2 separate regions of the Homo sapiens genome follow, and region 2 is linked to region 1. The links are contacts of gene promoters, found by promoter capture Hi-C in blood cells and fetal thymus (Javierre and others, 2016). All regions are on one chromosome and are shown on one strand. The core of a region is centred on a gene start or on the middle of the fragment in contact, and the rest is flanking DNA. Distances in the headings are between cores, read along the strand shown. Region 1 holds the start of MRPS21 (mitochondrial ribosomal protein S21). Region 2 holds the start of MINDY1 (MINDY lysine 48 deubiquitinase 1).

Region 1 (6,976 bases), core at 2,630-5,129:
TTCAGCCCAAGGATATAATTGTTATGCACATAGAATTAAGTGATGTGGCTGACCCCAGACCAGATTTTTTTTTTTGAGTCTTACTCTGTGGCCCAGACTGGAATGCAGTGGCACGATTCTGGCTCACTGCAGCCTCTATTTCCCAGGTTCAAGTGATTCTCCTGCCTCAGCCTCCCAAGTAGCTGAGATTACAGGCGCCTGCCACCACATATGGCTAATTTTGTATTTTTAGTAGAGACAGGGTTTCGCTATGTTGGCCAGGCTGGTATTGAACTCCTGACCTCAGGTGATCCACCCGCCTGAACCTCCCAAAGTGCTGGGATTACAGGCATGAGCCACCACGCCTGACCCTAAGACCAGATCCTTTTAAAAGACATAGAAACCATTCTGAGCCTGCAACTGCTTCTCATTTACACAGCTTCTGACAGCATTTTTTCTTTTTTTTTTTGTAGACAGAGTCTCGCTCTGTTGCCCAGGCTGGAGTGTAGTGGCACGCTCTCGGCTCACTGCAACCTCCTCCTCCCGGGTTCAAGCGATTCTCCTGTCTCAGCCTCCTCAGTAGCTGGGACTACAGGTGTGTGCCACCACGCCCGGCTAATCTTTTGTATTTTTAGTAGAGACGGGGTTTCACCGTGTTAGCCAGGATGGTCTCGATGTCCTGACCTCGTGATCCGCCCGCCTTGGCCTCCCAAAGTGCTGGGATTACAGGCGTGAGCCACCGCGCCCGGCTGACAGCATTTTTTTCCTCACTGTGGTCTTCTGCCATCCAGCCTTCCACACCTAGAACTCTCTGCTTTGCTAAGAACTAGGTTCCCTTTCCTTTGCCCTCTCAGTCCTCAAGAACCCTACCAATATTTAAACCCAATCAGATGAGGATTCTGGTTTTTTTTTTAAAGCGACACCTGCTGAAATGACAAGACAAGGATTCTAAATTGGAAAATGAACCACCATAAGTCTTTCCATTTCTAGTAAGACTAGTAATAATTATTAAAGAACATTGCACTAAAAAGATGTGCTTTAGGCTCCTCTCCACCATTCAATAACTGCATAACCCAATAAAGATAATCTGATCTTCCAAGGCTTCCCTTACTTGTGAAATAAAGCTACCACATTAAAGGCCTTAATGCAGCCCATGCAATATCTTTCCTACATTTTTTTTAAGAGACATGGTCTCACTATGCTTCCTAGGTTAGAGTGGAGTGGTTATTCACAGGCACAACAAGAGTGCACTCACACTACAGTCTTGAACTCCTGGGTTCAAGCAATCCTCTTGCCTCAGCCTCTGGAGCAGCTAGCACTACAGGAGCCCCTTCCTTACAATTCTTTGATAATTCAACTCAACAAGCGTTTGTTTCTCCAAATGTTACTTCACATTGGGGAAAGAAAATGACGCGTGAGTCATACCAGAAAGTCAAAATCCACACAACTGGTGAGAAGGGAAGGTTAAGAACTTTTTGCTTGAGAATTCAGTGGTAAAGTACTACTAGGGCTGGGCCGGATGCAGTGGCTCATGCCTGTAATCCCAGCACTTTGGGAGGCCAAGGCGGGTGGATCACGAGGTCAAGAGATTGAGACCATCTTGGCTAACGTGGTGAAACCCTCTCTACTAAAAATACAAAAATCAGCCAGGCGTGGTGGTGGGCACCTGTAGTCCCAGCTACTCAGGAGACTGAGGCAGAAGAGTCAATTGAACCCAGGAGGCGGAGGCTGCAGTGAGCCGAGACTGCACCACTGCGCTCCAGCCTGGCAACAGAGCAAGACTCCGTTTTAAAAAAAAAAAAAAAAAAGTATTACTAGGGCTCTTCTACATCTCTTAGCCTGGCATTCAAAAATTTTCAATGAAGCTATAAAGCTCCTCCACCCCAGCTAGTTTGTTTCCATTTATGTATTTTTCCTTATGCTGTATCTTTCCTGAAAACTTGTAAGCTTTCCCATCTTTCTTTTTTTCCCTTTCTTCTTAATATTTTTAGAAATGGGGTCTTGCTATGTTTACCAGATTGGTCTTGAACTCTTGGCAACAAGCAATCCTCCCCACTAGGCTTCCCAAAGTGCTAGGATTACAGGTGTGAGTCATCCCACCCAGTGAGCTTTCCCATCTTTTGCCTGCTTCTCTAGGATGCCAATCTGAATTCACCTTTTCCTTTAGCTTTGTCCCACACCAATCACTCCCTCAGCTTTCTATTTATCATACTACGTTCCCGCTTCCTAGCAACTTCACATCTTGATTTTCCATTTGGGCTCTTTTTTAAGTCTTCTAAAGAATTCAGGTTCCTCATAAAAGGAGTCATTACGCTTGGGCAACATGGCGAGACTCCCTCTGTACAGAAAATACAAAAATTAACTGCGGTGGTGGCGTGCGTCACTAGACCCAGCTAGTCAGGAGACTGAGGCAGGAGGATTGTTGAGTGACACAGCAAGACCCTGTCTCAATTTTTAAAAAGCGGGGCCGGGCGCTGTGGCTTACGCCTGTAATCCTAGCACTTTGGGAGGCAGAGGCAGGCAGATCACTTGAGGTCAGGAGATCAAGACCATCCTGGCCAACACGGTGAAACCCCATCTCTACTATAAATACAAAAATTAACCGGGCGTGGTGGCGGGAGCCTGTAGTACTGGCTGCTCAGGAGGCTGAGGCAGGAGAATGGCGTGAACCCAGGAAGCGGAGCTTGCAGTGAGCCGAGATCGTGCCGCTGCACTCCAGCCTGGGTGACAGAGCGAGACTCTGCCTCAAAAAAAAAAAAAAAAATTAAAATTAAAATTAAAAGCGGGGAGGTGCGGGGGGTGATTACTTGTTGAATACAATTCATACAGTTAGGTTTGAGGAAGAACTTTTTTTCTTTTTTTTTGAGATAGAGTCTCACTCTTGCCCAGGCTGGAGTGCAAGTGGCTCGATCTTGGCTCACTACAACCTCTGCCTCCCGGGTTCAAGCGATTCTCCTGCCTCAGCTCTCGAGTAGCTGAGATTACAGGCGTTTGCCACCACGCCCGGCTAATTTTTGTATTTTTAGTAGAGACACGGTTTCACCATGTTGGCCAGGCTGGTCTGAAACTCCTGACCGCATGTGATCCACCCGCCTCGGCCTCCCAAAGTGCTGGGATTACAGGCGTGAGCCACCGCGCCCGGCCCAGAACTTCATTTTTAAGATAATAAACTGAGGGGCTGAGACGTTTTAAGAGACTGTGAACACCTGGGCTGGCACTGTTTTGAGAACAATCAACGAAAGGGGAAGGGAGAGAATAACCACCGCACTTCCCAGAGAGTCTAGGCATGATTCTGGTCCCTTAACAGTTACCTGTTTAGGGTCCTGTATGCGCTTTCCACGTTCCCTTCCTGTACCATCACAGTCCTGGCGATGAACTTCAGATGTTTTGCCATGACCTTGGATTTAAACCTTCACTCTGTAGAGCCTAAAGGATGATGGAGAAAGGGCGAGGAAAGCAGAAAGAGAAACGCAACATAATACAAACTACACCGCGCGGCTTATTTAGGATTTGGAAATTCAACATGCTCAGGGACGCGCGAGATGGAGCACATGGAAGTCATCCTAGAAAGTAGACGTGAATCGTTGTCTCTTATTCTCACTGCCAGTCCAAATCCTCGCATAGAGAAGAAAAGAGATGGCAGCAGGGCGTTACCACAAAGACGCGTCGCCGGGCATGAGAAGGACACGAGCGACAAGGATGCGCCACAGGGTCCCAACCACCACACATAGTTCCAAAAGGGGTTGAGTTGGGAGTTGGGGAAGGACTCTTTGTTGGTCTTTGGAAAAGGGGGCGAAAGCCCGCAAACCTGCCCTCTCGCCAAGCCAGCCTTCCTTTCCCCAAACCCTGCACAACTCCTCACCTCGCGCGCTCAGTACCTAGCCCACCGGAAGGGTTCTCACTACCGGAAGCGGAAATTACGGAATCGCCAGCGCCGCGCAAAGAAACAGGCCGAGGGAGACAACGTGCGTGGAAACCATAGCAACGTCCTTTCTGGCCTCTGTTGACTGCCTCTCTTCCCCGGGCCTGGACTCTACACCTGACAAAGCAAAATACTCATTGACTTAAATTCCCCCGAAACACGTTTCTCGCCCTCTCATGGAGTCGAAGTCCTTCGGCCTCTGAGAAGGTCAGCCCAATTTCATACCCCTTAATCCTGTGAAATCCTTGATAAATATTTGAGCCATTTCTCTTTCTCGATGGAAAACAAGAGAAGTAGGCGCTTCCTGAGGATGCTTCCTGTTTTCTCTTTGGAAAGGACAGACTCTTTGAGATCTGCTCTCCGGACGAAAAATAGATTGATTCATACACGTCATCTGCCTAAGTGCTAAGGAAAAGAAATAAACATACTGTGAGTTTCCTATATCATCTTCCCACTAATTTAACTACATAAAGTGAAATCAATAAAGATATATGGGAAACACCTGCAGGGTTTAGAATAAAAAATTATGTCAGCTTCTATGCCTTTTCGTGCTAATGAGACCTACTGAAAAACCTCCTTTTAAATTTCTTCTTCGCTGTGGAGACACCCGTCCTCCTATTTGTATGCTACCTGTACATATCCATTTATGGTTATTCACGTAAGTTAACATCTAATGGCTGTAGGAAAACGTACCTCCCTTAGAGAGAGAGTGCGCGCGCACGCTCACGCACACACACACACACACAGACACAGACACAGACGTGTGCATCATCAGTTGATGCTAATAACTTACACTAACACTTAAGCCCACCTCAGAGTAAGCCAGGTCCAAAGTAACGAAATAGAACTAGATTGGGACATTATTATGCTTGTCAACAAACTTTCACTGAATGACTACTCTGTGTCAGATACTGTTGATACCACTCTAGTGCCTCCTGGACCACTAGGACCACATAAAAGATACTAAAACAAAGTAGTATATAATAAATGCAAAATAAATTATATGGGCTGGACGCGGTGGCTCACACCTGTAATCCCAGCACTTTGGGAGGCCAAGGCAGGCGGATCACTTGAGCCCAGAAGTTCGAGACCAGCCTGGGCAACAAAGCAAAACTCCGTCTTTACAAAAAATATAGAAATTAGCCGGGTGTAGTGGCATGGCCTGTTGTCCTAGCTACTTGGGAGGCTGAGGGGGAGGATCACCTGAGCCTGGAAGGTCAAGGCTGCAGCGAGCTTTGATCACACCACTGCACCCTGGCCTGGGCAATAGAGTGAGACCCTGTCTCAAAAAATTAAAAATGAATAAATAAATAAATAGGGCCAGGCGCGGTGGCGCACGCCTGTAATCCCAGCACTTTGGGAGGCTGAGGCGGGTAGATCACCTGAGGTCAGGAGTTTGAGACCAGCCTGGCCAACATGGTGAAACCCTGTCTCTACTAAAAATACAAAATTAGCCAGGCGTGGTGCCACATGCCTGTAATCCCAGCTGCTTGGGAGGCTGAGGCAGGAGAATCACATGAACCTGGGAGGCGGAGGTGGCAGTGAGCCGAGATCGCACCATTGCACTCCAGCCTGGGCAACAAGAGTGAAACTCCATTTCAAAAAATAAATAAACAAACAAATAATAAATAAAATATGCCACAGCATAATGTGGTGAAAGGCACTGGCTTCAAAGTTGGGAGATCTGGATTCTATCCCAATTCTAATACTCATCAGGCCTATGACCTTGAAGAAGTCATTTAAAACCAGGGGTCTGGAGACTACAGTTTACAGGTCAAATCCTGCTCCACCTGTTTTTGTAAATAAGGCTGTTGACCTACAGTCATGCTTATTTGACTGTGTGTTATGTATGGCTGCTTTGGGCTACGATGGCCGAATTGGGTAGTTGCAATAGAGACATAAAGCCTACAAAGCCTAAAATATTTACTATCTGGCCCTTGCCAGACTCACTCTATTTCCTCATCTCTAAAATGGGACTAATTTTGCCCTGTTCAGTCTCACGAAATTTGTCATGGGAATCAAATAGAATAAAATATGAAGATATGCCGGGCACGGTGGCTCACGCCTGTAATCCCAGCACTTTGGGAGGCTGAGGCGGGTGGATCACGAGGTCAGGAGATCGAGACCATCCTGGCTAACACAGTGAAACCCCGTCTCTACTAAAAATACAAAAGATCAGCTGGGCGTGGCGGCGCTCGCCTGTAGTCTCAGCTACTTGGGAGGCTGAGGCAAGAGAATCACTTGAACCCTGGAGGTGGAGGTTGCAGTGAGCTGAGATGGTGCCACTGCACTCCAGCCTGGGTGACAGAGCGAGACTCTGTCTCCAAAAAAAAAAAAAAAAAAAAGAGAAAAAAAATATGAAGATACTTTGAAAGAAAGGAAGGGAGACAGGAACTGATGTTAATAAGTTCTGTTAACCACTACCATTGGATCAGCTGGAGAGTAACATTTTTGAGAGCCTACTATATACTAAACCCTGTACTAGGTGGGTGTTTTTTATTTTTGTTTTTGTTTTTCTGAAACAGAGTCTCACTCTTGTTGCCCAGGCTAGAATGCAGTGGCACCATCATAGCTCACTGTAGCCTGGACCTCCTGAGCTCAGGTGATCCTTCCACCTCAGCCTCCCGAGTAGCTGGGATTACAGGGACATGCCACTACGCCTAGCTAATTTTTTGTATTTTTAGTAGAGACTAATTTTTTGTATTTTTAATAGTTTCACTATGTTGTCCAGGCTGGTCTCCCAAAGTGCTAGGATTACAAGTGTGAGCCACCCCACCAGGCCCCAAACCCTGCACTAGGTATTTTATGTACATGATTCCATTTAATGGAGTAAACGGCCAAACACTGAGTGTATAGATCATGTTTAACAGAAAGAATGATAGGATGGACTTGAGTTAGTCGTTGAAAGAGGGCAGGGTTTAGATAACAGAAGCAGGAAAGGTTTGGCAAGGTGAACAGCATGAACAAGAGCTTAGGGGCAAAAAGGTGTAGTGTTCAGGAGTCAAAACAAAACAAAACAAAAACCTGCAACAGAGAGATCATGCAGGGGAGCACAGGGAAAAATAGAGACTGTGA
Region 2 (6,379 bases), core at 2,119-4,618, 710 kb before region 1:
AATGGACACTCATCATCAAAAATTCCCTCATTTATTTATCTATCCCTTTATTTCCTACCGTCAGCCTCACACCAGCTTTTCCTGCTTCCCCAGCTGTAAATCGAGAGGAGGTGACTGATGAGAGGCCTGCAGTGGAACCAAGATCCAGAGCACAGGCGTGTTGGATCTCCTGCCTGCTCTGCCAGTTCTTTTCTTCTTCTTCTTCTTTTTGAGACGGAGTCTTGCTCCGTCTTCAGGCTGGAGTGCAGTGGCAGGATCTTGGCTCACTGCAACCTCCACCTCCCGGGTTCAAGCGATTCTCCTGCCTCAGCCTCCCGAGTAGCTGGGACTACAGGCATGTGCCACCATGCCCTGCTAATTTTTGTATTTTTAGTAGAGATGGGGTTTCACTATGTTGGCCAGGTTGGTCTTGATCTCTTGACCTTGTGATCCGCCCGCCTTGGCTTCCCAAAGTGCTGGGATTACAGGCGTCAGCCATCGCGCCCAGAGCCTGGGGCTTCTACCACACCCTCTGCACTCTACCAGGTGCACAACCCAACCAGTTTCATTTCTAGACTTAAAAATGATACAGCAAGGACTTGGAAAGGAGCTCTCTGGAGGGCTCCAGAGGGAAAAGAGCTGGGTTTGTTTGTTTGTTTTTAACATTAATTGAGTAATACATGCAAATATCGTGCTCTTTGCTCCTGCTTCTGTGGATCCAGAGCAAAGGACTGCCATACCCAGAGAGAGAGCCCAGATCCAACAAGCTGCTTCTGTCCAGCCCTTCTCCTCCCTACTTAGCAAGGGCACTTGCTCTTCCCTATTCTCACCAGAGAGGCACAAGCGCTCCGTCCCTTCTAGAGGCAGGCAGAGGGAAGAGAAAGGGTCTGTTGTTTTTCTCTCCTGTTTCTCGCTCCCTCTCTGCTGATCACAAAGCTGCTGACCGGGTCAGAAAGTCCTGATGGAAATCCACCAGCGCTGGGCAGGCCCCTCCTCCTCCAGGGAGCTTGTCCTTGCCTAATTTTTCTTCGTCCTGATGAGAACAAAAAAGAGAGAGAGAAGAAAAGAAAAACCACAAACTTCCTTTGAAAACCAGCTTGTAGTCAGGGCCCGGAGCGCATGCCATAGACTCGGCGACTCAGGAATCCTGAAGACTCTCTGAGCGACCTGGAGCACCTTGGCTGTGTCCCTGCCTGCCTTCACCCTCCTCCAGTGCCCCCAGTACTGGGCGTGAGTCCGGAAGTGGCCACAACCCAGCCTGGACCGTCGCTTATAAAGCTGTGTAAACCTGTATAAGCTCAGGCGTTGACAGCTGGAAGGCAGCTGGCACTGGCAGCCCCCTTCATTGCACCTATCTCCCCCATCTCATTGCCACGGCTGAACCCTCCTTCTCAATCTTGGAACAGCACCCCCTTCTTTAAGGTAAAAACTTTATTTTAATCATCTTCTTCACCTCTTCTCCCACCCTTCTCTATTTCCTCTCCAGCTTTGGGGAGCTGACACCTGCTGTCCTTCCACCTTTGGTCTGCAAGTCTGGATTGCTTAGAGGAGCTAAGTCAGGAGAGACATGTAAAGGGGATGCTGCTTGGTCCTCCTCCTTTTAATGAAAGCACGAAACCTTCCCCCTCTCCTTGTGAGCAAGTATACAGGGCACTGTGGCCATGGTTGACATATTCTGAGATGAAAATCTAAACTATTGATTGCACAAAGACATAGGTCAGACTAAGAAGGAGATTGGTGTGAGACAGTAAGGGAACTGTTCCTACAGAGAAGGAGTGTCTTCTTGAAGCTACATACCTGTTTTACGTGCTTCTTCCAACTTTCGGCTCTCTACTGCCATTGATTAGGGAGGAGCCAGGATTATTTTAACTCCCTCACTCACCACCATAATTCCAGCTGGAGAGAAAGTGTAGGATTTGACGAGCTAAGAAAGAGGAGGAAAAGAATGAAACTTTGATTTATCTGACTATCCTCTCCCTCATTCTTTCCTACTCTGAAATACTCCATGCCCTCCCCAGCAGGATTGGACGTTGTAGAGTAGAAAGCCTCCATTACATTTCCTGCCCCTGCCTCTTAAGACTTAGCCCATTTAGCTCTGCCCAGTTCCTCTGAGACCCCACTCCCTCAGGTGTCCACTCCTGGGTTCCTTTGGCTCACCTCTCCAGCCAGCTAGCTGCCCAACCCCCACTTCATCATTGATCATTTCTGGCACTGGAGAGAAAATATAAAAAATAAGGCCTGCTTTTCTTTTTTTTTTTTCTTTTTTTCTTTTTTTTTTTGGAGGCAAGAGTCTCACTCTTGTCACCCAGGCTGGAGTGCAGAGGCACAATCTTGGCTTACTGCAACCTCCACCTCCGGGGTTCAAGCAATTCTCCTGCCTCAGCCTCCTGAGTAGCTGGGATTACAGGTGCCCGCCACCGTGCCCGGCTAATTTTTGTATTTTTAGTAGAGATGGGGTTTCGCCATGTTAGCCAGGCCGATCTTGAGCTCCTGACCTCAGGTGATCCGCCCGCCTCGGCCTCTCAAAGTGCTGGGATACAGGTGTGAGGCACTGTGCCCGGCCAAGGCCTGCTTTTCTTCAAGCTTTTTCACTTTTCCAGGCTCTGGCATCTGCTTTGAGGTTCACCCTAAGTGTCATTTAAGGGGAGAAGGAAAGGAGAGAGAGAAAGAGAGAGAAAAAAAAGCATAAGGCCTGCAGGCAATTTTTGCTACTCTGATTCTAAATTAACAACACGTAAATGATATGCAGCTAGCATAAACATATGTGAATCAAGAGGATAATCAATTTGAGTGACTAGGCTTATTTTGTTTCAGTAACTTTAATGTTCCTCAACCTCATCTCCCAGGCCTTCCCCTAGCCCCAAATTCCTGTAGGTTTACAAGAAGGAAGCAGTCTCAGGCTGGGAGGAGGGTGGAGAAAAGACAAGATTTCTAACTAGTTTAATTTATTTTATTTTATTTTATTTTATTTTATTTTATTTTATTTTATTTTATTTTATTTTTGAGATGGAGTTTCGCTCTGTCACCCAGGCTGTAGTGCAGTGTCACCATCTCAGCTCACTGCAACCCCCTGCCTCCCAGGTTCAAGCAATTCTCCCACCTCAGCCTCCCGAGCAGCTGTGACTACAGGCACGTGCCAACACACCTGGCTAATTTTTGTACTTTCAATACAGACAGCGTTTTGCCATGTTAGCCAGGATGGTCTCGATCTCCTGACCTCAAGTAATCTGCCCGCCTCAGCCTCTCAAAGTGCTGGGATTACAGGCGTGAGCCACCGCGCCTGGCCCCTAACTAGTTTAATTTCTCCCTGTTTCTCTCCCTGATAAAGAGTGGGAGGGGAGCAAGGAGATTGAAGGGAGATGTTTTCCAAAGGGCAGGATTTGTGGTTTTTTATTATTTATACCCACAGTATTAGTTAAATGTCTATCTGTGCTTGCCTCAATGTGCCTCCAGTGCTGATAGAGAACAGGTTAAACAGGTCCGGTGTTCACATCTAAAATGACCTGGAGAGGACTGGGCACGGTGGCTCATGCCTGTAATCCCAGCACTTTGGGAGGCCAAGGTGGGAGGATCACCTGAGGTCGGAAGTTCAAGACCAGCCTGACCAACATGGAGAAACTCCATCTCTACTAAAAAATACAAAATTAGCTGGGCATGGTGTTGCATGCCTGTAATCCCAGCTACTCGGGAGGCTGAGGCAGGAGAATCACTTGAACCCAGGAGGCAGAGGTTGCAGTGAGCCGAGGTCGCACCATTGCACTCCAACCTAGGCAACAAGAGCAAAACTCTGTCTCAAAAAAATAAAAATAAATAAATAAAACCACTTGGATGGGAATAGACATAAAACTTTAGGTAGGTGAATGTACAGGAAGTATTGTTATGTAAATTAATAATCAGCATTTTCATATTTCATAGAAATAGCAGGCAAGAGAGTACCTCTGGGTTTAGGTAGTTTCTGGGGAAAAAAAATGAACTGAGGAAAAGTTGCTGTCTCAATGCTAGCTGTCAAGAGATGCTTACTGGGTCCAGGCACCGTGGCTCATGCCTGTAATCCCAGTCCTTTGGCAGGCTGAGGAGGGCGGATTGCTTGGGCCCCCAGGAGTTAAGACCAGCCTAGGCAACAAAGCAAGACCCTGTCTCAGTTTAATTAAAAGAAATTTGATATCTTTATTAATTTTTTTTAAAGAGAAGCTTACTGGAAGAACTTGTGGGGAGTGCTTTTTGTGCCCCTAATCTGAAGTTATTTATCAAAACCAGTCTCTGATTCCAGCCCCCACCACCTACATTTCCCCTCCCAGCTTACAGGAAACCCCTCCCAAGGCCTTTATACTGTGGTTTGGGATTGTGTAAGGTTCAGTAGAGCCCTTTGAGGTGGAAGACTTCCCCTTCCTCACCAGCATTTCACCTTTAGGGGCATGAAACTGACTCTCTGTGCCTCCTCCATTCTTCACCCCAAGTACTATGTGACTTAATCTTTTTATCCTTGGGTGAGGCAGAGAGAAGGTATCCCTAAACATACAAGCACTGTGTATTCTTAGTATGTTGTGTGAAGGGGCAGGGTGTGGGGTAGGGCAGAGGAATTATCTCTGTCATGGCTATGAGGGGGTTACTGATGTGATGCCTATTAGAGTAAGCTAAAGATCATCATATTAATAACCATTAGCGTAGATTTAACATTTCTTTCTCCACCTCTTATCCTTCTTTCTCCTTTGTGCTCTCCCTTTCTCTCTGTCTTTCCTCCCTTCCCTGTCATGATCTGTTTCAGGGAAGCTGACTCCACCCATGTGTTCAATCCCACCAGTCTTCCCTCCCAAGTCTGGAAGCCCCACGACCTCTTGGTCTCATCTGGTCACAGCAAGTTAGAGGTGGAAAGAGCTCAGCACGGGGCCCTTCTGTTTACACATATACTGCCCATAGCCAGGAGTTACTGCACAAACACTAGCCAGCCTTCTACACTACATTCCTTTTCCAAGACTTTTCTGGGTTAGTTTGCTTTCCAGCCCACTGATTTCCTTCTTATTGGACAGGTCACTCTTTTGCATCCCAAGCCTGGCTTAGGCAAGTCCCTGAGGTTAGTAAACACCTTCAGTGCCCCTCAGCCAAGTCCCTTTTGACCATGGAATACCATCAGCCTGAGGATCCAGCCCCTGGTAAGGCCGGGACTGCAGAAGCAGTCATCCCTGAAAACCATGAGGTTCTGGCAGGCCCAGATGAGCACCCTCAGGACACAGATGCAAGAGATGCTGATGGGGAGGCTAGAGAACGGGAGCCAGCAGACCAAGCTTTGCTGCCTAGCCAGTGTGGGGACAACCTTGAGTCCCCTCTGCCTGAAGCTAGCTCAGCTCCACCGGGGCCAACCCTTGGGACACTGCCTGAAGTAGAGACAATAAGGGCATGCTCCATGCCCCAGGAGCTTCCTCAGTCCCCCAGGACCCGACAGCCTGAGCCAGATTTCTACTGTGTCAAGTGGATCCCTTGGAAAGGAGAACAGACACCCATCATCACCCAGAGCACTAACGGCCCTTGCCCTCTCCTTGCCATCATGAACATCCTCTTTCTTCAGTGGAAGGTAAGAGAACATGCAGTTAGGGGTGCAAAAAATATCAGGGAGTACTCTTCCCTGACTTACTTCCTTGATCATCCTGATGTCCTCAAACTAGTCAAAACTTTTCAGATTGTTCTCCCTATTTCTCCAGCTTGAGCAAATGAGATAAGATGTTCCTAAAAACAAAGAAAAAAAAAAAAGAGGAAGATCTGTCCTACCCCTGTATCTCCTACTCCCTAGCAAATGCACATGCCTTGCAAGATTTCACATTCATTCCCTTGTGCCAGTTGCAAGCCTTTTTTCCTACCCCACCCTACTACTGGAGCTCCCCCTTGCCTTTCCATGGGTTCTTCCTTCAGTGCTCTTTGGAGGAAAGCACACACGTGATCACCCCTTCTGCCTCCAGGTGAAGCTCCCCCCGCAGAAGGAAGTGATCACATCGGATGAGCTCATGGCCCATCTTGGTGAGTGACTGGGCGTTGAAGAGGAATTACCCAAGGGGCTCCAGAGCTATCCACTCAGCCAGAAATCCAGACTATTCAGGGATCTCCATTTGGGGGTTCTGATACAGCAGGGAGGGTAAGGGTCTATGGGGCTTCTCTGCAAGGCTGGAGAATGAAAAGCAAAGGCGTCGGGAGTCCTGGGTTGTAACACCAATTCTGCCCTTAGCTTTTGTATCTGACCCTGGGTGGGCCGTTCACCTTTATGAGGCTGTCGCCTCCTCTGAGAAATGAAGAGTCTGGATTAGACTCTAAGTATTTTCCAGCTCTGAAAATCTGTGTTCTGTGACATTACCCGCATTCTCCAGGAGAAGAGGAAACTTAGCTTTTGGGATGATTGGTGGGGTAAGCTGAT

The links. The method cuts DNA at HindIII sites, captures the fragments that hold promoters and counts their contacts. A CHiCAGO score of 5 or more calls a contact.
Region 2: a fragment that was not itself captured here is called in contact with the fragment with the promoter of MRPS21 in region 1 in 1 of 17 cell types (fetal thymus); the score reaches 6.2 in fetal thymus.

Annotation. Positions count from the first base shown.
Region 1 is chr1:150,290,764-150,297,739 of GRCh38, reverse strand. It overlaps MRPS21 (mitochondrial ribosomal protein S21), which reads right to left and starts at 3,879. Exons shown (of 3, transcript NM_031901.6): 1 at 3,842-3,879; 2 at 3,291-3,405. The coding sequence starts at 3,373. LOC105371434 (a long non-coding RNA gene) reads left to right here and starts at 3,920. Exons shown (of 2, transcript XR_922129.4): 1 at 3,920-4,108; 2 at 4,243-4,440. RefSeq lists enhancers at 141-698, 3,532-3,591. The HindIII fragment of the contact is 15,404 bases long and covers 1,929-6,976 here.
Region 2 is chr1:151,001,334-151,007,712 of GRCh38, reverse strand. MINDY1 (MINDY lysine 48 deubiquitinase 1) reads left to right here and starts at 811. Exons shown (of 10, transcript NM_001376665.1): 1 at 811-1,401; 2 at 5,007-5,548; 3 at 5,931-5,988. The coding sequence starts at 5,096. RefSeq lists enhancers at 906-1,085, 1,316-1,575. The HindIII fragment of the contact is 1,608 bases long and covers 2,565-4,172 here.